Linked DNA regions of Homo sapiens: all the other regions are linked to region 2. Evidence: promoter capture Hi-C in 16 types of primary human blood cells and fetal thymus (Javierre and others, 2016). All regions are on one chromosome and are shown on one strand. The core of a region is centred on a gene start or on the middle of the fragment in contact, and the rest is flanking DNA. Distances in the headings are between cores, read along the strand shown.

Region 1 (3,284 bases), core at 634-3,133, 570 kb before region 2:
AGAAGTAGTTGGGTTGGACTTCTAACAAAGCTTTATAACAGAGCCGACTCAGTTCGCAGATGTCGTTTCTTGTCCCTGCCCCTTCCTCTTTCTTCTTATCCAGACTCAGAGATGATGATTGGAGGAGCAGTAGACATCTTGTGCCTATGAGGTGGCTTTCGGGCTAGCAGAACAGAAGGATGGGAGTCCAGATGTCTGAAGACATCATGGAGCCACTATAATATTTCTGAACTACTTGTGTTAAGTGAGAAAAAAAGTTCCTACCTTATTCAAGTCACTATTACTTTTGCATCCTTTGTGTTACTAGCCAGGTGTAATTATTGATAAAGCCTAAATCACCTCTGGTTTTCCCCCTCCTACCTCAAACTTCACCCAGCTCCAATCCACCCTCCACCTGGCCACCAGGGAGCTTCCTCACACACAAATCTGATACCGACCCTGTCCTGCTTTGAAGCCTTCAATGGCTTTCCAGCACCCCTAGACAAAATCCACATTCTTTAGTATGACATTTGGGATGCTGCACACCCAGGCCTGAGCTGAGCTGTATCTCCTGCCTCAACCCCAGACACCCTGTGCTCCAGCCACTCCACACTTTTCAACATTCCTGTCTATACCACTCCTCAATATCCACAATCCTGTAACTTGAAGTGTTCTAGGTGCTGAGCTCCTGCTTGTCATTCGATACCTATCTGCAAAGCCACCTCCCACAGGAAGTCTTCCCCGGTGTCCTCAGAGTAAGTTACTGACTCCTATGGACTTCTAAGACCAGCTCTTTGTAAAATATCTCTGATCTGTGGCACTTACCGCACAGTATTATAATCACTTATTGTTTTAATTAGTCTCCCCACCTTGACTGGGAGCACTTCAAGGCGGACAGAGCCTTGTTGGTCTGTTTATCCCCAGCTATTAGCAAATCCTGAATGAAGGAGTGAATAGACAGGTAAATGGAAGCACAGACCCTGACCCCTGAGGATTCAGAGTTGCCATCCTTCATGCTGCTGGAGCCCAGGGGAAGGCTGAGTTAGAAGAGGGCACAGAAAAACCGAGCAGGTATCTAAGAGAGGTGCACCCCACTGATGCATGTGGAGTGTCTGGGACCCAAGAAAATCCTGGAAGCTGTCACTAGGGCAGGGTGAAGGGTAGCACGAACATGGACTTCATGTTCCCCCCACCGGGCATATCCCAGTGCAGGCTCCAGACGGCAGACGAGGGGCAGCCCCACAGCAGCTTCCTCTCCCTGTTTCATCCCCAGCCTGGCCCCACACCACAGTCCATCAACTCCTGCTCCAGGTGGAAACCTCAGAAACCCACAAAGCTCGGACCTGCTCCAGGTCACCAAGCAGCAGGGCCAGGCACTGGCAATCCAACGAGAAGCCCCACTACATCGCATTCCAGCTCCTGAAGCCATTCCCTGGGTAGGAGAGCCCTGATTGTTATTATCATCTCTCCATTTTACAGATGGGGACAGAGTGGCCTAGAGAGGTGAAGTGTGCCAAAGGTCACACAGCCAGCCAGAGGCAGAGGAGGGACTAACCCCACTTCCCTCCACGGGCAGTGCACCCCAAAGGAGCCAAAATGCTGACAGCAGTGGGGCAAATTCCAGGGGCCCCGGAGCGACCGCCGAGTTGGCCACAGCCACACGATGCATAGGAAACGCTAGGCCCTCTGCACCCTCTCCTGAGGCCCAGTGCCCTGAGGCAGCCCCCTTTAAGGAGCGATCGGCCTTCCAGAAGAGCTCCAGTCTTAATTTTAGCTTGGAGGCCTGCCACAGGAGGCTTTAGAGAGAGGCAGGCTGAAGTTATGTGGGACAGCTGTCAGCCGGCATGCTGGGTGGGGCCTATTTAGCTGGCAGGGACATAAGTCTGGGGACACTGAATTGGTCTCTCTGCCCCAAGTATTTTCAGCCCCAGCCGGCCACACAGCTCGGATCTCCTCCTGTGGATCCCCCCAGCTCTGCGATGATGGCAGAAGAGCACACAGATCTCGAGGCCCAGATCGTCAAGGATATCCACTGCAAGGAGATTGACCTGGTGAACCGAGACCCCAAGAACATTAACGAGGACATAGTCAAGGTAGGCTCTGCAGGCCTGCCTCGGCGGGCGGAGAGTGTCAGGTTTGCGAGACGTGGGCGCTTGGCAGGGGAGGGTATCTGCTGCAGACACAGTTTCCCTGAAAAGAGACTTGTTGCTCTGTTGTCTCTGTATCACCCCCCCAACCCCACCCCACCCCCAAAAAAAGGCTTCTAAATCACCGAAGGATCTTTAGCAAAATCAAGAGCAAAAAATTAGCCTCATCTCCATGACCTAAGTGCTAATCAGGGCAGGAGGAGCGAGTCACAAAGAAAATCCCTCCTTACTACTGTGACGCTCCTGCCACTCACTCCTGGCTCTCACCCTGGGAGGAACAGGAACGGGCGGCCAAGTTGGGCTCCTTTCTGTGCCAAGGGGCATTTCTGCGGTCTCTCCAGTGGGTGCAGGGTTAATCCCCAGAGGGCAGCTTCCAGCAGGGCCGGCAGCCCCTCGAGGTACACTCACTCCCCCAGAGCACTGCCCAATATCTGTCCCCAAGGCCGAGGGCCATGCCCAGCCCTCCCCTAGCTACCCCCTCACCCCAGGTCTAGTGGCCAGGACAGGGCAGACGGCACCCGGGACCCTCGAAGAGAAAGCTCGGGGTTGTCTAGCCCTCAGGGAGTCTCTCAGCGTCTGAAGTTGGGCCTCTTCCCTCGCCTCCTGGTGACACTAGCGGCCCTGCTGCCTCCAGGCCCACACCTTCAATCCAACTTCCAGCCAGTACCCAGAGGGATCTTTCTTTTTTCTTTTTGAGACAGTCTCTCTCTGTCCCCAAGGCTGGAGTGCAGTCGCACACTCACGCCTCACTGCAGCCTCAACCTCCCAGGCTCAAGTGATTCTCCCTCCTCCACCTCCTGATTAGCTGGGACCACAGGCGAGTGCCACCATGCCCAGCTAATTTTTGTATTTTTAGTAGAGACTGGGTTTCATTATGTTGACCAAGCTGGTATCAAACTCTTGGGCTCAAGTGATCCTCCTGCCTCCCAAAGTGCTGGGATTACAGGTGCAAGACTCCACAACTGGCTCAGAGGTACCTTTCTAAAGCAGAATTCCTCCAAGAAGGGTCCCCAGCCACCAGCATCTGAGTCACTGGAGGGGCTGTTAAGAGGCCAGTGTCTGAGGCCTCTCAGATCCTACTGAAAGCATTGGAATCTCAGGCCAGTGCTGTCCAATAGGGATACTGTTACCACAAGGAATTTAAAATTTTCTAGCAGC
Region 2 (3,162 bases), core at 568-3,067:
CCCGGGTACAAGGGGGAGAGGCTCTGCAATCCGAGCAAGGGGCTTCAGTTCTCTGAACCTCAGAATTCGAATGGGTAAAATGACACCGAAGAATGGCAACGAAGATAATACTTAAAGTACCTAATATCTCCCACCACCACCTTTTGTCACCACTTTTGAAATAGTAAATGGTTATAAACCAATGTAGATGATAAATTCTAGAAGTTATACAGCATTTGTTCTGAGCACTCTGACAAGCTGTAACACTGCCTCGATTTTTTCTTACTTATATTTTTTCCTTTACATTTGTTTGTTTGTTTGTTTGTTTGTTTTTAATTGTGGCAAGAACACGTGCCAGGCGCGGTGGCTCATGTCTGTAATCCCAGCACTTTGGGAGGCCTAGGCGGGCAGATTACTTGAGGCCAGGAGTTCAAGACCAGCCTGGCCAACATGGTAAAACCCCATCTCTACTAAAAGTACGCAAATTAGCTGGGCATGGTGGCGCATGCCTGTAGTCCCAGCTACTGAGGAGGCTGAAGCAGGAGAATTGCTTGAACCCGGGAGGTGGAGGTTGCAGCAAGCTGAGATCGCACCACTGCACTCCAGCCTGGGCGACAGAGTGAGACTCCATCTCAAAAAAAAAAAAAAAAGAACACTTAACATAAGACCTACCCTCTTAATGGATTTTCCAGTACACAATACAGCAGTATTAACTATATACTACACCTATATAGAGATCTCTAAAACTTAATCATCTTGCATACCTGAAATTTTATCCTTGTTGATTTAGCTAACACTTTTTGAGTGTTTGTGATGTGATAAGCCTTGTTCTAAGCATTTTATTTATATTAATTTATTTAATCTTCAAAATAGCCATGAGGAAGGTATAGAATGACTGCTCAAGTCACTGGCTTAATCCACAAGAGACTGCACCAATTTGAAAAGTCTACAATAATAACATTTGGAAGGCGATTTACACTTGATAAACATTACTTCATTTAATCCACACAACAGCCTGTTAAGATCAACATTATCTTCATCTTAAAATAAGGAAACTGAAGACCACTCAGTCAACACACATCTGCCTACAGTGTGCTGGGCCCTGGGGTGCACATGAACAAGGTGTTTGGGGTCCCCATGCCCTTGAGTGAGACTTGAGTAAGTACTCCTGAACTGAGTGTACAACGGGGGAAATCTAGGCACCACACAAAATCACAAGAGCTATAATAACTTCGTCTGGAAGGGGAGACGTTTCACAAACAATTCTGTCCAGGGTCGCACTGCTGCCAAGCTCTGTGCCTGCCTGTGGTACGGGACCCCATGTACGACTTACAGACCAGTTAGTCCACAACAGTAACTTCCCCTTCAGCACCTGAGCTCCTTAAGAACAGTGCCTGTGTCCTAATCACCTGCATAACCCAACACCCAGCAGAGAGCCTGGCACGTGGGGGTTGCCCATAAACACTTGCCTAATGAAAGCTCTGTTCTTCTTCATGCCCACTTGCCCTCCCTCCTTTCTTTCCCCAGACCTTCCTTTTATTCTCAGCAATCCAGAGATTAGACTTTGGCTCCTTAGCACAGTCTCCTGCCATAATTCTCAAACCCAGAGTAGTTACAAGAACGGTAGAATGAAAATGGTATCGGGGAGGGGAGTGGAACTAGTAGGTCTTAGACATTCACTCTGTGCTCAGCATTCTATCTTTAGCATCTTAAATCTAACAGCAGCCCTGGTGGGTAGGTAGTAAATGGCAGAGCTGGGATTTTACTCTGACGCCCAGGTTCACCATGTTCTGCTGCCCTTGGCTCTCTCCTCCAAGCTACAGCGAGTGGCCGGTGCTGTTGTCAGTGAGGGATAAAGCTCAAAGCCTCCCATTTGGGCTTCTCCCCCTCCGCACTAGGACCTCCCCAAAACCAGGAGTTTCTTCCAGAGGTCGTATGCTCACTCCCTGAGGGCCTGGGATGCATCTTCCCAGGGCTTCCCATTTCCAATTTTGAGTCCCTTATTCCTGAAGAAACTCCCAGGGGACAGGTATTCAGGGACAGTCCACTGGGTTGCAACAGCTAATGAAACTGACATCTGACAGATACCATTCTCCACCTGCTCACCTGGGGAATAATATCACTAAGCTCCTCCTCTGTGCTGGCCTTCTGCTAAGCCTTTCTCAACAATACCTCATTTAATCCTCACAACAACCTTCAGAGGTTGTTCCATCTCCATTATGTCAGGGTCCTGAGAACAAAGAAATGTCAGGTTGGGCCTTCCAGGAAGCTGACGCTAAGACAAAATTAGACATACAAAAGACTAATTGGAAGAAACATCTAAGAAGGATAAAGGAGTGAGGGAATAGGAGCAGGCCCAGAAAGTCTCAGACCCTGCTGCAGGTCTGCCACCAAAGAAGAGAGAAGGGGAGGAAGGATTGGGCAGGAAGAGCCTCAGGCTTCGGGACTGTAGTGTCCTCCTGGTGCTCAGTCACTGGTGAGGGCAGCTCAAGAAGAGTGTGACCTCCACGCGAACGCTGCGGTGTAACAGGGAGGGGCTGAAGCTACCCACAGCCCTCACAGGAGGTCCTCTCTTTTTTTTTTTTTTTTTTTTTAGATTTTTTTTGTTGCTGTTTTTTATTTTTATTTTTTTATTATACTTTAAGTTCTAGGGTACATGTGCACAATGTGCAGGTTTGGTACATAGGTATACATGTGCCATGTTGGTTTGCTGCACCCATCAACTTGTCATTTACATTAGATATTTCTCCTAATGCTATCCGTCCCCCAGTCTCCCACCCCCCGACAGGCCCCAGTGTGTGATGTTCCCCACCCTGTGTCCAGGTGTTCTCATTGTTCAATTCCCACCTATAAGTGAGAACATGCAGTGTTTGGTTTTCTGTCCTTGTGATAGTTTGCTGAGAATGATGGTTTCCAGTTTCATCCATGTCCCTGCAAAGGACATGAACTCATCCGTTTTTAGGGCTGCATAGTATTCCATGGTGTATATGTGCCACATTTCCTTAATCCAGTCTATCATTGATAGACATTTGGGCTGGTTCCAAGTCTTTGCTATTGTGAATAGTGCCGCAATAAACATACGTGTGCATGTGTCTTTATAGTGGCATGATTTATAATCCTTTGGGTATATACCCAGCAATGGGTTTGCTAAGTCAAATGGTATTTCCAGTTCTAGATCCTTGA
Region 3 (2,912 bases), core at 1-2,500, 540 kb before region 2:
CCGCGTTTCTCTTCCGACGCGGGTAGGGCGTGCTTGTCCCATTCCCAGGAACCCAACTCATCTGAAACAACAGGGCACAACCGCCGGCCTCGGGTTGCTCAGCCGCCACCCCAGAAATCCCCGTTGGAGGTACCTCCTCTGAGCCACTGCAAATGAGCGGGAATCCTCTACCGGCCACAAGCCCAGAGCCCCCAGCGTGCCAGTTCCTCGGGATGTTCAGCGGCTTCCACTGGGGGAGAAGGGAGGGTCAAAATCAGCAACGTTCCTCCGGGAGTGGGAATCTAAAACCAAATCACCTCCCCGAGGGAATCTCCAAACTACCTACTCGCCCCAGGCTCCGACCCTCAGCATATCCACCTGCCGCGGGACCCCCAAACCAGCCCCTCTCCTAGTAAACATTAATTCAAGTACTTCCTCCGGAAATCCCCAAATAGCCACTTGCCTGGGAAACCCCAGCTCTGGTCCTTCCCCGTCTAACCCCCTTTTCTAAGACGGTCGGCCGTCACTCCCTGAACTTCCACAGCACCTGCTTCGGTGGAAACCCGGTTCTGCAGTCCCTGCTGGGGGAACCCCTGCCTCAAAGCCCAAGATGCCCAAGCGCTGTTCCCAGACCCTGGCATAGACACCTCCCGCGGGGCTCCTCCCCAGCCCGGCAGCCTCGAAAGTTCTGGAACCCCTGACTTGCGCTTTGGACCCAGATAATCAAGGACTCTGAGTCTCAATCCCGAGAAGTCACTTTACAATCTCTCGGAACACCCCGAGCTCCTCCAGGAACAAGGAGTGCGAGGCACCCCACCACCTCCACTCGGGTCCCGATGGCTCCACCGGCCCTAGCCATCCCGTCCACCCCTGCTTAGCACCCAGCTACCTGCACCGAGTCCGCAGGCGAACCTAAAGTTGACTCCCCCCGGGGAAGTTGCACGGCGACTGACGGCCCCAGTGACGCGTGCGCTCCCGGCCCGAGTTGGGATGGCCTGCCGGCTGCACCTAATGTGATGCTAAGCTGAGGTCTCTCACTGGAGCCTCGGTTGGAATCCCCTCGCCGCAGCCTGGCTGGTCGCTGGATGGGTACAGGAGGCGAGCGAGGAGCGCCTCCCAGGCTGCGCGCGCGGACAGCGTCTGGATGCGGCGCTGTGCGCTGGGGCTGAGGCTGCACTATCGCACGGGTCCGCTAGGGGGCGGGCGAGGCCAGCCGCGCAGACCCCTCCGGAGCGGAGCTGGTTCGCCCAGCGTTGGTCCCAGAGCCTTAACAAATGGGTTTATTTTGCAGTGGTTTAAAACTGCGAGAGGGAGGGAACTCGTCAATAACCCGCCCGTTTCTTCCTTTCTTGGTTTAGAAGCTCTTGACTCCGAGACACATAGGAGGCTTGAATAATAATGTTCTTCCCCGGGTAGATAGTGATGAAGTTACAAAAGCATTTAAACTGATTATTTCCCAAAAATGATGTTAATTTTCAGGCTTTTCTCTCCCCCCACACCTCCAGCTTGATGTAGCGGCTTTAGCAGTGAACTCAAATAAGTCTTTGCTTTGGAATACTTTTGTTCCTATTCCCGTTAATGAGGAATTAGAAATGGCCTCTATTCTAAGCAGTGCTGGGAGAGGCGTTATTTTTTCGGTAGTTTTAGAGGAAATTCTGAAGCACAACACTGTCTTCATTTAAAGTGATTCTGCTTGTCTGCGCCCAAGAGCCGTTTCTGCCTCCTTGTCGCGCTTCGGAATTAAAATTCTAAATGATGCCAAAGGAAGATAAAATGTTAAAGACAGCTTCTCAGCCTCCCTGCCCCTTCTCTATTCTAAAATCATTTTTTGAAGTAATTTACAGTGGCCAAGAATTAAGTCAGAAAAAAAGGCCAGGATTCAAAAATAAACAGGGCTCTTTAAAATGCATTAAATGTGTATTTCCTCCTGACATTTCACTTCTCCGTCTTTTTATTATGTGGAGAGACTTGAGTTAGCCAAGGACTGGGTTTCCTTAATCCACAATTACAGCCCCATGCCGAGATATCCCAGGGGCCAACCTTACAGCACCTGGATCCCAGGGTTCTAGCTGAGTAATCATTCCAGAATGGGGCTGGGAATCTTGACAGCATTGCCAAGGGGTGGCAGGCAGTATTAATCAATATTAGTCAATAGTACCTATCGGCCTCGAAAATTACAGATTAAAGTTACAGACGACTCAGGTGAGAATGAAGTGACCTTGGGCAAGCCCCTTCTCTTTGGGCCTCAGTCTCCTCATATGTAAAATGAGAGCACTGGTCAAGATAGCTAATGTCTGAGGTCCTGTCCCTCTGGTTTTCTGAAACTGTATAATCTGTGCAATCTGAGGGTTCAATCCTAGCAGGTAAAACACCCCTGCCTCACTCCACGGCTGGATGAAGGCAGATTTTTCCCTATGAGCCCCTGACCGGTGAATGTGAGAAGGAAAACACTGGCCTGTAGAACCAAGCCTGCCCTTCTTTCTCCTGGAAGACAGCTGCTTTCTAGGGAGCAAGTTTACTGAGCCACTTCACCAAGGACAGACTCTTCTACCCTTTGTAGGGAAGCCTGCCTACCTGTGTGGTCCTCGCGTAGCCCGTGAGACAGCCTAATTCTGGATTCACCTAACAGGGCTATTTAGTCTCATGCAAAAGGTAAATTCTCTAACTTAGTTTTAATCTAAACAACAACAATAACAACAACAGTAATAGTGTGATCCCCATTTCCTGTCTTTTGTTTTATTTCTCATTGTGTGCAGAAACCAGGCAGGAAATAGAGAGGTCCCCTTGAAAACTCCTAACAATGAATAAGACATGCTCCTTCACCTTTGAGCTTCGGCCAGGGAGAAAAACACATATTAGATTGGTGCAAAAGTAATTGTGGTTTTTGCTATTAAAAATAATGGCAAAAACTGCAATTACTTTTGCATCAACCT

What was found. Contacts are between HindIII fragments. The CHiCAGO score rates a contact against its expected background, and 5 or more counts as called.
Region 1: a contact is called between the fragment with the promoter of CAV3 here and a fragment that was not itself captured in region 2, in 1 of 17 cell types (endothelial precursors). The highest score is 5.2, in endothelial precursors.
Region 3: a contact is called between the fragment with the promoter of OXTR here and a fragment that was not itself captured in region 2, in 3 of 17 cell types (naive B cells, M1 macrophages and endothelial precursors). The highest score is 7.1, in naive B cells.

What each region holds. Positions count from the first base shown.
Region 1 is chr3:8,731,919-8,735,202 of GRCh38, forward strand. CAV3 (caveolin 3) reads left to right here and starts at 1,884. Exons shown (of 2, transcript NM_033337.3): 1 at 1,884-2,072. The coding sequence starts at 1,959. The HindIII fragment of the contact is 6,732 bases long and covers 29-3,284 here.
Region 2 is chr3:9,302,812-9,305,973 of GRCh38, forward strand. It overlaps a transcript of SRGAP3 not described here. Among named protein-coding and RNA genes, the nearest start is that of SRGAP3-AS4, 55 kb to the left of the region's middle. RefSeq lists a silencer at 1-49. The HindIII fragment of the contact is 5,856 bases long and covers 1-3,162 here.
Region 3 is chr3:8,768,363-8,771,274 of GRCh38, forward strand. OXTR (oxytocin receptor) reads right to left here and starts at 1,251. Exons shown (of 4, transcript NM_000916.4): 1 at 869-1,251; 2 at 134-229. RefSeq lists enhancers at 47-718, 1,366-1,415. The HindIII fragment of the contact is 6,509 bases long and covers 1-2,912 here.